Regions from separate parts of the Homo sapiens genome. Here all the other regions are linked to region 1. The links are contacts of gene promoters, found by promoter capture Hi-C in human tissues and cell types (Jung and others, 2019). All regions are on one chromosome and are shown on one strand. Each heading gives the region's core, a stretch centred on a gene start or on the middle of the fragment in contact. The rest is flanking DNA. Distances are from core to core; before and after follow the strand shown.

Evidence for each region. The method cuts DNA at HindIII sites, captures the fragments that hold promoters and counts their contacts. A contact is called where the count stands out against the background at its distance.
Region 2: a fragment that was not itself captured here is called in contact with the fragment with the promoter of UBE2O in region 1 in 2 of the 25 tissues and cell types used here (aorta and heart right ventricle).
Region 3: a fragment that was not itself captured here is called in contact with the fragment with the promoter of UBE2O in region 1 in 3 of the 25 tissues and cell types used here (H1 embryonic stem cells, aorta and bladder).

Annotation. Positions count from the first base shown.
Region 1 is chr17:76,451,724-76,454,582 of GRCh38, forward strand. UBE2O (ubiquitin conjugating enzyme E2 O) reads right to left here and starts at 1,429. Exons shown (of 18, transcript NM_022066.4): 1 at 1,002-1,429. The coding sequence starts at 1,418. It also overlaps a transcript of AANAT not described here. RefSeq lists silencers at 781-980, 1,101-1,640, 1,435-1,603. The HindIII fragment of the contact is 12,276 bases long and covers 1-2,859 here.
Region 2 is chr17:76,226,204-76,229,062 of GRCh38, forward strand. The region is part of intron 1 of RNF157 (ring finger protein 157); the gene reads right to left. It also overlaps the pseudogene ATF4P3. Among named protein-coding and RNA genes, the nearest start is that of RNF157, 13 kb to the right of the region's middle. The HindIII fragment of the contact is 9,258 bases long and covers 1-2,859 here.
Region 3 is chr17:76,600,672-76,603,530 of GRCh38, forward strand. No RefSeq gene overlaps it. Among named protein-coding and RNA genes, the nearest start is that of ST6GALNAC2, 16 kb to the left of the region's middle. RefSeq lists a silencer at 416-710 and enhancers at 561-1,760, 1,087-1,634, 1,635-2,181. The HindIII fragment of the contact is 3,370 bases long and covers 1-2,859 here.

The sequences.
Region 1 (2,859 bases), core at 179-2,678:
TTTTCTTGAAGGGGAGGGGAAGTAGGAGAGAAAGAAGGGGTGTGAGATACAGGGGGGTGTGTGTGTGTGTGTGTGTGTGTCAATTACTGATAGGAATTCACATTCTGGAAAACAAGCCACCAAACCAACCCGGGTTCAAGGTTTCGGGTTTATGATGACAAGCCTCTTTGTTTTGTAAAACTGCTATACTCACTAGCATCACCCCAAAAACCATACGGGAGTCAGATGTCTGCTTAACAGCTTCAGGTCAAGAAAAAACCTTCGGGTTTCCAAATTGGTGACTCCCCTCTACCCAGGGTTCTGGATTATTTTTTTCAAGGAGTCCATATGCACTTAGGAGTCATCAATCCCGGTCGCAGCTGTCAGAATCCTCCCCCCCAAGTACTATTCATACCGGGGCTCTGATTGCTAATGATTTTACTCACAAAGTTCCCTGCAGCAATTAAAAGGAGGCAGCAGGGTAAAACAAAAAGAGGCTGGGTGGCTTCACCATAATGCAGCCTGTAAGCTAGTGAACTTCTTGGGTTCGGCTGGGATTTTCACCTCTATCTTTGTTTTGGAATGCCCACAACCCCTCCCTGCACGGACCCGGCACGGCCTTCATTTCTGGATGCACAATGCAGTACCGAGCTCCTTGGGGGTCAGCAAAACGCCGCACTGGTGTAACGCCGAACGCGCCCCAGAACCTGAGTCCCCACGGGAGTCGGTCCACGTCTCTAAATCTCGAGGCCGACACCACAGCATAACATGTCTTAGAAGTCCCCTCAAGTCGGGAAGCCCAGGGCCCGCCCGGTCCCGGGCCAGCAGTGCCTGGCTGGCGTGTGCGCCCAGAGCTGCTGCAATGACTTTGCATGGAGTGTACCCTCCACTGGGGCTGTCCTCCCGCGTCGGCCACTGCAGTGGCACCGCTCCGGGCAGGGCCCTGCACGCCGTCCTTCCCTGGCCTCGGCCCGGCCGCCGACCCCCTGCCGCCCGCGCCGCCCAGCCCCCGCCCGCCGCACCTTGGTCTCCTTCACATGCTGCTTGACGCCCTCCGGGTACCACTGGACGCGCACGTAGCCGCGGCGCAGGGGGCTGGCCCGGCCCTCCTCGTGGCCCGCGCCCCCGGCCTCGGAGCACCCCGAGCTCCCGCGGCCCTCCTCCTCGCCCTCCGAGTCCGAGTCCTCGCCGTGGATGAGGCGCACCAGCCCGAAGTGCACGGAGCCACGGTAACGGCCCGACACCAGGTCGTGAGAAAACAGCAGGCGCTGCGAGCCGGCTTCTGGGCCGGAGTCCGAGGACGGCCCGGAGGCCGAGTCCGAGGCGGGCGCCGGCGCCGGGACGGGGGCTGCGGCTGGGGCCGGGACTGCCTCCGGGGCTGGAGCCGGGGCCTGGGCTGGAGCGGGAGCTGCGGGCGTGGGGGCTGCGGGATCCGCCATAACTGCTCTGCGCGAGTCTCGGGCGGCGGCGGCGACAGCGGCGGCGAACGAGGCGCGGGGAGGCGGGACCAGCGGGCGCCGGGGGCGGGGCCATAGCGCGCTGACGTGTCCCTGCGTGGCGCCGTCGTCAGGGAGCCGGGATGCAGTTGCTAGGAGCCACCGCCTCGTCGCTAGGGGACGCTGAAGATGCCGCGGGGGGCGGGGGCAGGATGGAATCCACTAAGAAGGGGCGAGACCAGTGAGGATTCAACTAAAGGGAGCGAGAAGGGGCGGGGACCCGGGAGGAGGAAGTGGAGTGGCCACCGAGGAAGAGGGGAGTGGTCGGGGTGGGGCACAGGATGGTGGAGAGACTGTCAACAACTTTTAATGAGCTCCCTTGGCGTCCTAGCCTAGCCCCCAGGCACTGGGAGCATTGCAGAAAGAGAAAGATACTGTCCCTGTCCTCTAGGTGTTTCCAGTCTAGTTGGGGAGACAAAACAAATACACATTAAATAGATAACAAACAACTCCAACTTGTAAGGCTATAATAGATACGTGTAGAGCATATGTATAATGCACTGTATTCAGGAATTCCAAGCAGTTCGAACGTCATGACCCCTCAGAAGTTGACCCAGAAGCTGGTGAAGGAGGCCCAGAGAAAGGTAACAAAAGGATCAGTGGTCCCAGTGGTTTGGCTACAAATCCATGCAGATAAATTCAAAGCTCCCTGAAGCCAAGAATGAATGGCAAGAGGTAGTATAGTAAGGTAGCTAAGAGTGGGGACCACGGATTCCAATTTTTGGCACTGCCACTTACTAATCTATAAAAATAGGCACACTGATTAACTTATTTTCATCTTAATTTGCTCATCTGTGAAATAGGGATGATAATAGCAATACTCATCTCATTGGGCAATTGGAGGATTAAGTGAAGTAGAACAGTGCCTGGCATTTAGCTCCTTCGATAAGCTTAACCATTGTTGTACTATTTCCAAACTCCCTGCCTAGACTAAATTCCAGACTGGCAGAACTGTTATGGTCTGCTCCATATTGTCATTTTAAAATATAAAAAGTAGGCCGGGCGCGGCAGCTCACACCTGTCATCCCAGTACTTTGGGAGGCTGAGGTGGGCGGATCACGAGGTCAAGAGATTGAGACCATCCTGGCCAACATGGCGAAACCCCATCTCTACTAAAAATACGGAAAAAAAAAAAAAATAGCTGGGCGTGGTGGCACATGGCTGTAGTCCCAGCTACTCAGGAGGCTGAGGCAGGCAAATCGCTTGAACCTGGGAGGCTGAGGTTGCAGTGAGCCCAGATCGCGCCACTGCACTCCACCCTGGGCAACAGAGCAAGACTCTGTCTCAAAAAAATAAATAAATAAAAATAAATAAAATATAAAAAGTAACTCTAGGGCCAGGCGTGGTGGCTCATGCCTGTAATCCCAGCACTTTGGGAGGCAGA
Region 2 (2,859 bases), core at 92-2,591, 230 kb before region 1:
AACGTAAGCAGTGGAGTCCGGCTTCCTATCTTCTTCAGTGATATCCACTTCACTGCCCAGCTCTAAACTAAAGGAATGATCTGGAGTGGAGGACTGGACCCCTGGGGAAAGGGGAAGAAGTTGCAAGAAGGTGAAGGGGGCAACCTGGTCGGGTTTTGTTAAACTTTCTGGGAGATGGCCAATTGGGTTCACCATCTGGGGGGGCACCTTATTAGTCTCCTGGACTAGGGGGGCAAAGAGATTACAAGTGTCATCCAACGTGGTCAAAAGGTCATCTGGCATGGTTTCCAGGTCATCTATACCCAACAGGGCACCAAAGTCGAACTCCTTCAAATCCATTTTCTCCAACATCCAATGTGTCCCAGAGAAGGCATCCTCCTTGCTGTTGTTGGAGGGACTGACCAACCCATCCACAGTCAGCCATTCGGAGGAGCCCGCCTTAGCCTTGTCGCTGGAGAACCCATGAGGTTTGAAGTGCTTGGCCACCTCCACGTAGTCATCTAAGAGACCTATGCTTTCTTCAGCCCCCAAACCCGACTGGTCGAAGGGGGACATCAAGTCCCCCACCAACACCTCGTTGCTCAGGAAGCTCATTTCGGTCATGTTGCGGTGCTTTGCTGGAATCGAGTAATGTGCTTAATTCGAAGGTGTCTTTGTCGGTTACAGCAATGCTGCTGCTGAATGCCGTGGGAAGCGCCATGGCTTAAGCCGCTGGGGGGTGCCGCTGCAGAGCCTGGTGCTGCTGCCGCCGCTGCAAAGGCCAATGCTGCCGCAGGCACTGCTGCCCCTAATATGCCATGGTGGCCGTGGACCCTGAGGGCGGGGAGGAGGGAAGGCGTGCACGTGCGGAAAAAACTACATCTGTGGGCAGGCAAAGTAGAAATGCCAAATAATATTAATAACCTCTTTTTTTGTTTTTTTTTTTTTTTGAGACGGGAGTCTCACTCTTGTCGCCTAGGCTGGAGTGCAATGAATGACACGATCTTGGCTCACTGCAACCTCTGCTTCCTGGGTTCAAGAGATTCTCCTGCCTCAGCCTCCCAAGTATCTGGGACTACAGGCACCTGCCACCACACTCAGCTAATTTTTGTATTTTTAGTAGAGACAGGGTTTTACCATGTTGGCCAGGCTGGTCTTGAACTCCTGACCTCAGGTGATCCGCCCACCTCAGCTTCCCAAACTGCTGGGATTACAGGCGTGAGTCACTGCGCCTGGCCTATAATCTCTTCAGAGGACTGACTCTATAACAGCACTGTACTAGCAAGTACTACACGGGTTATTCTTCACAACCCTTTGAAGATGTTGCTATTTTCTTTTCATTTTATAGAAGAGGAAACTAATGCACAGAGGTTAAATAATCTGTCCAAGGTCACACAGATAGTAAGAGGTAGTGGCCCGGCATGGTGGCTCACGCCTGTAATCCCAGCAGTTTGGGAGGCCGAGGTGGGCGGATCACCTGAGGTCGAGAGTTGGAGACCAGCCTGACCAACATGGAGAAACCCTGTCTCTACCAAAAATACAAAATTAGCCGGGCGTGGTGATGCAGGCCTGTAGTCCCAGCTACTCAGGAGGCTCAGGCAGGAGAATCGCTTGAACCCGGGAGGCAGAGGTTGCGGTGAGCCAAGATCGCCCCATTGCACTCCAGCCTGGGCAACAAGAGCGAAACTCCATCTCAAAAAAAATTTAAAAAAAGAGGTAGTGTCAGGTCCCCAAATCTAGCTATATTTATTCCAGAACCTGTGCTCTTAACCATTATAATGTATTCCCATTGAATGTCCAGATTTAATTAACTGTTTCCCTACTGATAAACATTCTCTTTACAGTTTATGTTGCTTCCTGTTTTTTACAAATGGAATTCATAGATGTAGACTTTGTGGGGTTTTTTTCTAAAAAGAAATAAAAAAAACCATTTATGGAATATTCCATTTCCCCCCACTAATTTAAATTCTATTCTTATGCTAAATATACTTAGATCTGGACTCTTCTATTCTGGACCAGTACAACACAGACTGAACAACGGTAGCTTCACAGCATTTAGAGAAAGGCACACATCAATGCGTCTAAAACCCTTCCCACATTCTCAAGTCCCAACCCCAACCCTGTACCCTTCTTCCTTGTGGTGCTCTCAGAACCCTTATGCATTACAATAGTTTCAACACCTAACAACTTCCCCATATTTCTACCCATACTTTCTTCCAGTCTCAAGGAGGCATTCCTCCTTTCCAAGGTTAACTTCTTCACCTGAGTTCTCATTCCCAACTGCCTCTACCTCACCTGAGACCACATCTGTAACCATCCTTCTTGTTTAACACTTGCGTTCCTCTCTCTCCACTGGCTTCTTACTTACCTCATCCTACAAGCATATACTGGTCTCCCCAACTCAAATAACAAATACCAAAAAAGTTCCATCTGCCATGTCTTACTAACCAGTCACTTGGGCTGGGCACAGTGGCTCACACCTGTAATCCCAGCACTTTGGGAGGCTGAGGCAGATGAATCACCTGAGGTCAGGAGTTCGAGACCAGCCTGGCCAACATGGTGAAACCCCCTCTCTACTAAAATACAAACTTAGCCGGGCGTGGTGGTGGGCGCCTGTAATCCCAGCTACTCGGGAGGCTGAGGCAGGCGGAGAATCACCTGAACCTGGGAGGCAGAGGTTGCAGTGAGCTGAGACTGCGCCATTGGACTCCAGCCTGGGCGACAGAGTGAGACTCCATTTCAAAATAATAATAATAATACAAAAAAAAAAATTCACTCACCCACCCACTCACCCATCCATCGATTCATCCTGTCCTTTCACACCACACATCCAGTAATTCCTCAAATATTTACAATAGTTTCCACCCCTCTACTAAAACT
Region 3 (2,859 bases), core at 177-2,676, 150 kb after region 1:
AGACTGGTCTTGAACTCCTGAGCTCAAGGAATCCGTTTGCCTTGGCCTCCCAAAATACTAGGATACAGGCATAAGCCACCACACCCAACCTGCCTTGAGATTCTGAGGAAGCTGGTGTGTGCGTGAGTGTGTGTGTGTGAGTGTGTGTGTGTGTTTGTGTATGTGAAGGGGGTCGGGGTCAGGCCTCTAGTTCCCTGTTCCCCAGTGCCAACACAGAACTATTCTTTGTGCCCACCCAGTATGTGATAATCCAGAAAATGCCACATTTTTGTATAAACCGATTTGCAAACAATTTTGTAGATAAGTATAAATCCTCAAGCTTGGTACAGTGTACTTTTCTCCTTCTGTGAACACAATGTTTGACTTTAAGCTTTCCTTTAAATACCAGTCAAAGCAGGGAATAGTGACTTATGCCTGTAATCCCAGTACTTTGGGAGGCCGAGGTGGGCCGATCGCTTGAGCCCAAGAGTTCGAGACAAGCCTAGGCGACATCGTGAGACCCTGTCTCTACCAAAAAGAGAGAAAAAAAGTTAACTGGGTGTGGTGGCACATATGCAGGAAGCTAAGGTGGGAGGATCGTTTGAGCCTGGGAGTTCAAGGCTGCAGAGAGCTGCAATAGCGCCACTGCACTCCAGCCTGGGTGATGGGGTGAGACCCTCTCTCAAAAATAAATACATACAGTCAACAGGACATGTGAGGACTGCCATGGAGACCAGCATGAATGCAACACTATCCTCTGAGTACACTTTAGACTTTCCATTACTATCACCAGAAAGGGGTCCCAATCCAGACCCCAAGAGAGGGTTCTGGGATCTCATGCAATAAAGAATTTAGGGTGAGTCCAGAGTAAAGTGAAAGCAAGTTTGTTAGAGAAGTAAAGAAACAAAAGAATAGCTATTCCATAGGCAGAGCAGCCCCAAGAGCTGCTGGGTGGCTATTTTTTTTATTTATTTTTATTTTTAGTAGAGATGGGGTTTCATGGTGTTAGCCTGGATGGTCTCAATCTCCTGACCTTGTGATCCACCCGCCTCCGCCTCCCAGTGGGTGGCTATTTTTATGGTTATCTCTTGATCATATGCTAAACGAGGAGTGGATTATTATGTTTTCCAGGAAACGGGTGGGGATTTTTTGGAAATGAGGTTTCCTCCCCCTTTTAGACCATATAAGGTAACTTCTGAACGTTGCCATGGCATTTCTAAGCTTTCATGGTGCCGGTGGGAGTGACTTTAGCATGCTAATGCATTATAATTAGCATATAATGGGCAGTGAGGACTATTAGAGGTTACATTTGTTGCCATCTTGGTTTTGGCTGGCTTCTTTACTGCATCCTGTTTTATCAGCAGGGTCTTTGTGACCTGTATCTTGCGAGCTCCTATCTCACCCTATGACTAAGAATGTCTAACCCCCTAGGAATGCAGTACAGCAGGTCTCAACCTCATTTTACCCAGTCCCTATTCAAGATGGAGTCACTCTGGTTGAAGTGCCTGTAACATTACTAACACAAATATCTGTCCTGCTTCTGAATCTCTCTTGATCTCTCCAATGCACCCTCGACCCAGGAGCAACTTTTGGACCCTTTGCCTACTCCTCACTGCAAAAAAGAACAAGATCAAAAACTGCTGATCCTAGGCTGGGCATGGTGGCTCACACCTGTAATCCCAGCATTTTGGGAGGCCAAGGCAGGCGGACCGCCTGAGGTCGAGAGTTTGAGACCAGCCTGGCCAACATGGCGAAATCCCGTCTCTACTAAAAATACAAAAATTAGCCAGGTGTGGTGGCAGGCACCTGTAATCCCAGCTACTCGGGAGGCTGAGGCAGGAGAATCACTTGTACCTGGGAGGCAGAGGTTGCAGTGAGCCCAGATCGTGCCATTACATTCCAGCCTTGGCGAGAGAACAAGACTTTGTCTCAAAAAAAAAACAAAAAACCCAAAAAAACTGCTGACCCAGAAGCAGAGAATTGCGAGACGTGTTAGATCTGTACTTTAACCTTTTAAATCCTCTAAAACAGCTGAATTAGTTGTCTAAGTCCCAGGCATGTGAGAAAAGAGGAAAAATAATGTTAAATCCGTGAGTAACTGTGTGAGCCCTTGCACCAGTGACTCTGAAAGGCGGAAGAGAAAGAGAGACTGGGGTTGTTGAAAGATAAATTATGCTGCAACGTTTAATGGATAAGCCATGGTTTACCCACCGGTAAAACACTCAATTCCTGGCCCAGGCTTTGAATCATTGCAAGGGCACTCCTTGGGAAGAGGACATAGTTGGAGGCTGTTAGTCTGTTTTTACATTGCTATAAATACCTGACAGTGGATAATTTATAAAGAAAAGAGGTTTAATTGGCTCATTGTTCTGCAGGCTGTACAGGAAGCATGGTGCCCACATCTGCTTGGCTTCTGGTGAGGCCTCAGGGAGCTCTTATTCATGGCGGAAGGTGAAGTGGGAGCAGGCATGTCACTTGGAGAGAGAGCAATAGAGAGAAGGGAGAGGTCCCAGACTCTTAAACAACCAGACCTTGCATGAACTAACTGAGCAAAACTCACTTATCACCAAGGGGATGTTGCTGAGCCATTCATGAAGGATCTACCCCATGATCGAATCACCCCCCATCAGGCCCCACATCTAACATTAGGAATCATGTTTCAACATGAGGTTTGGAGGGGACACACATCCAAACCATATCAGAGGCCGTAGAGTTTGGAAGCCTGAACTTGCACTTGGGGTTTTTGGTCTAAGCTGGAAGGAGTCAAGAAAAAGGATGGGGCTGGGCGCGGTGACTCACACCTGTAATCCCAGCACTTTGGGAGGCTGAGGTGGGCAGATCACTTGAGGTCAGGAGTTCAAGACCAGCCTGGTTAAGATG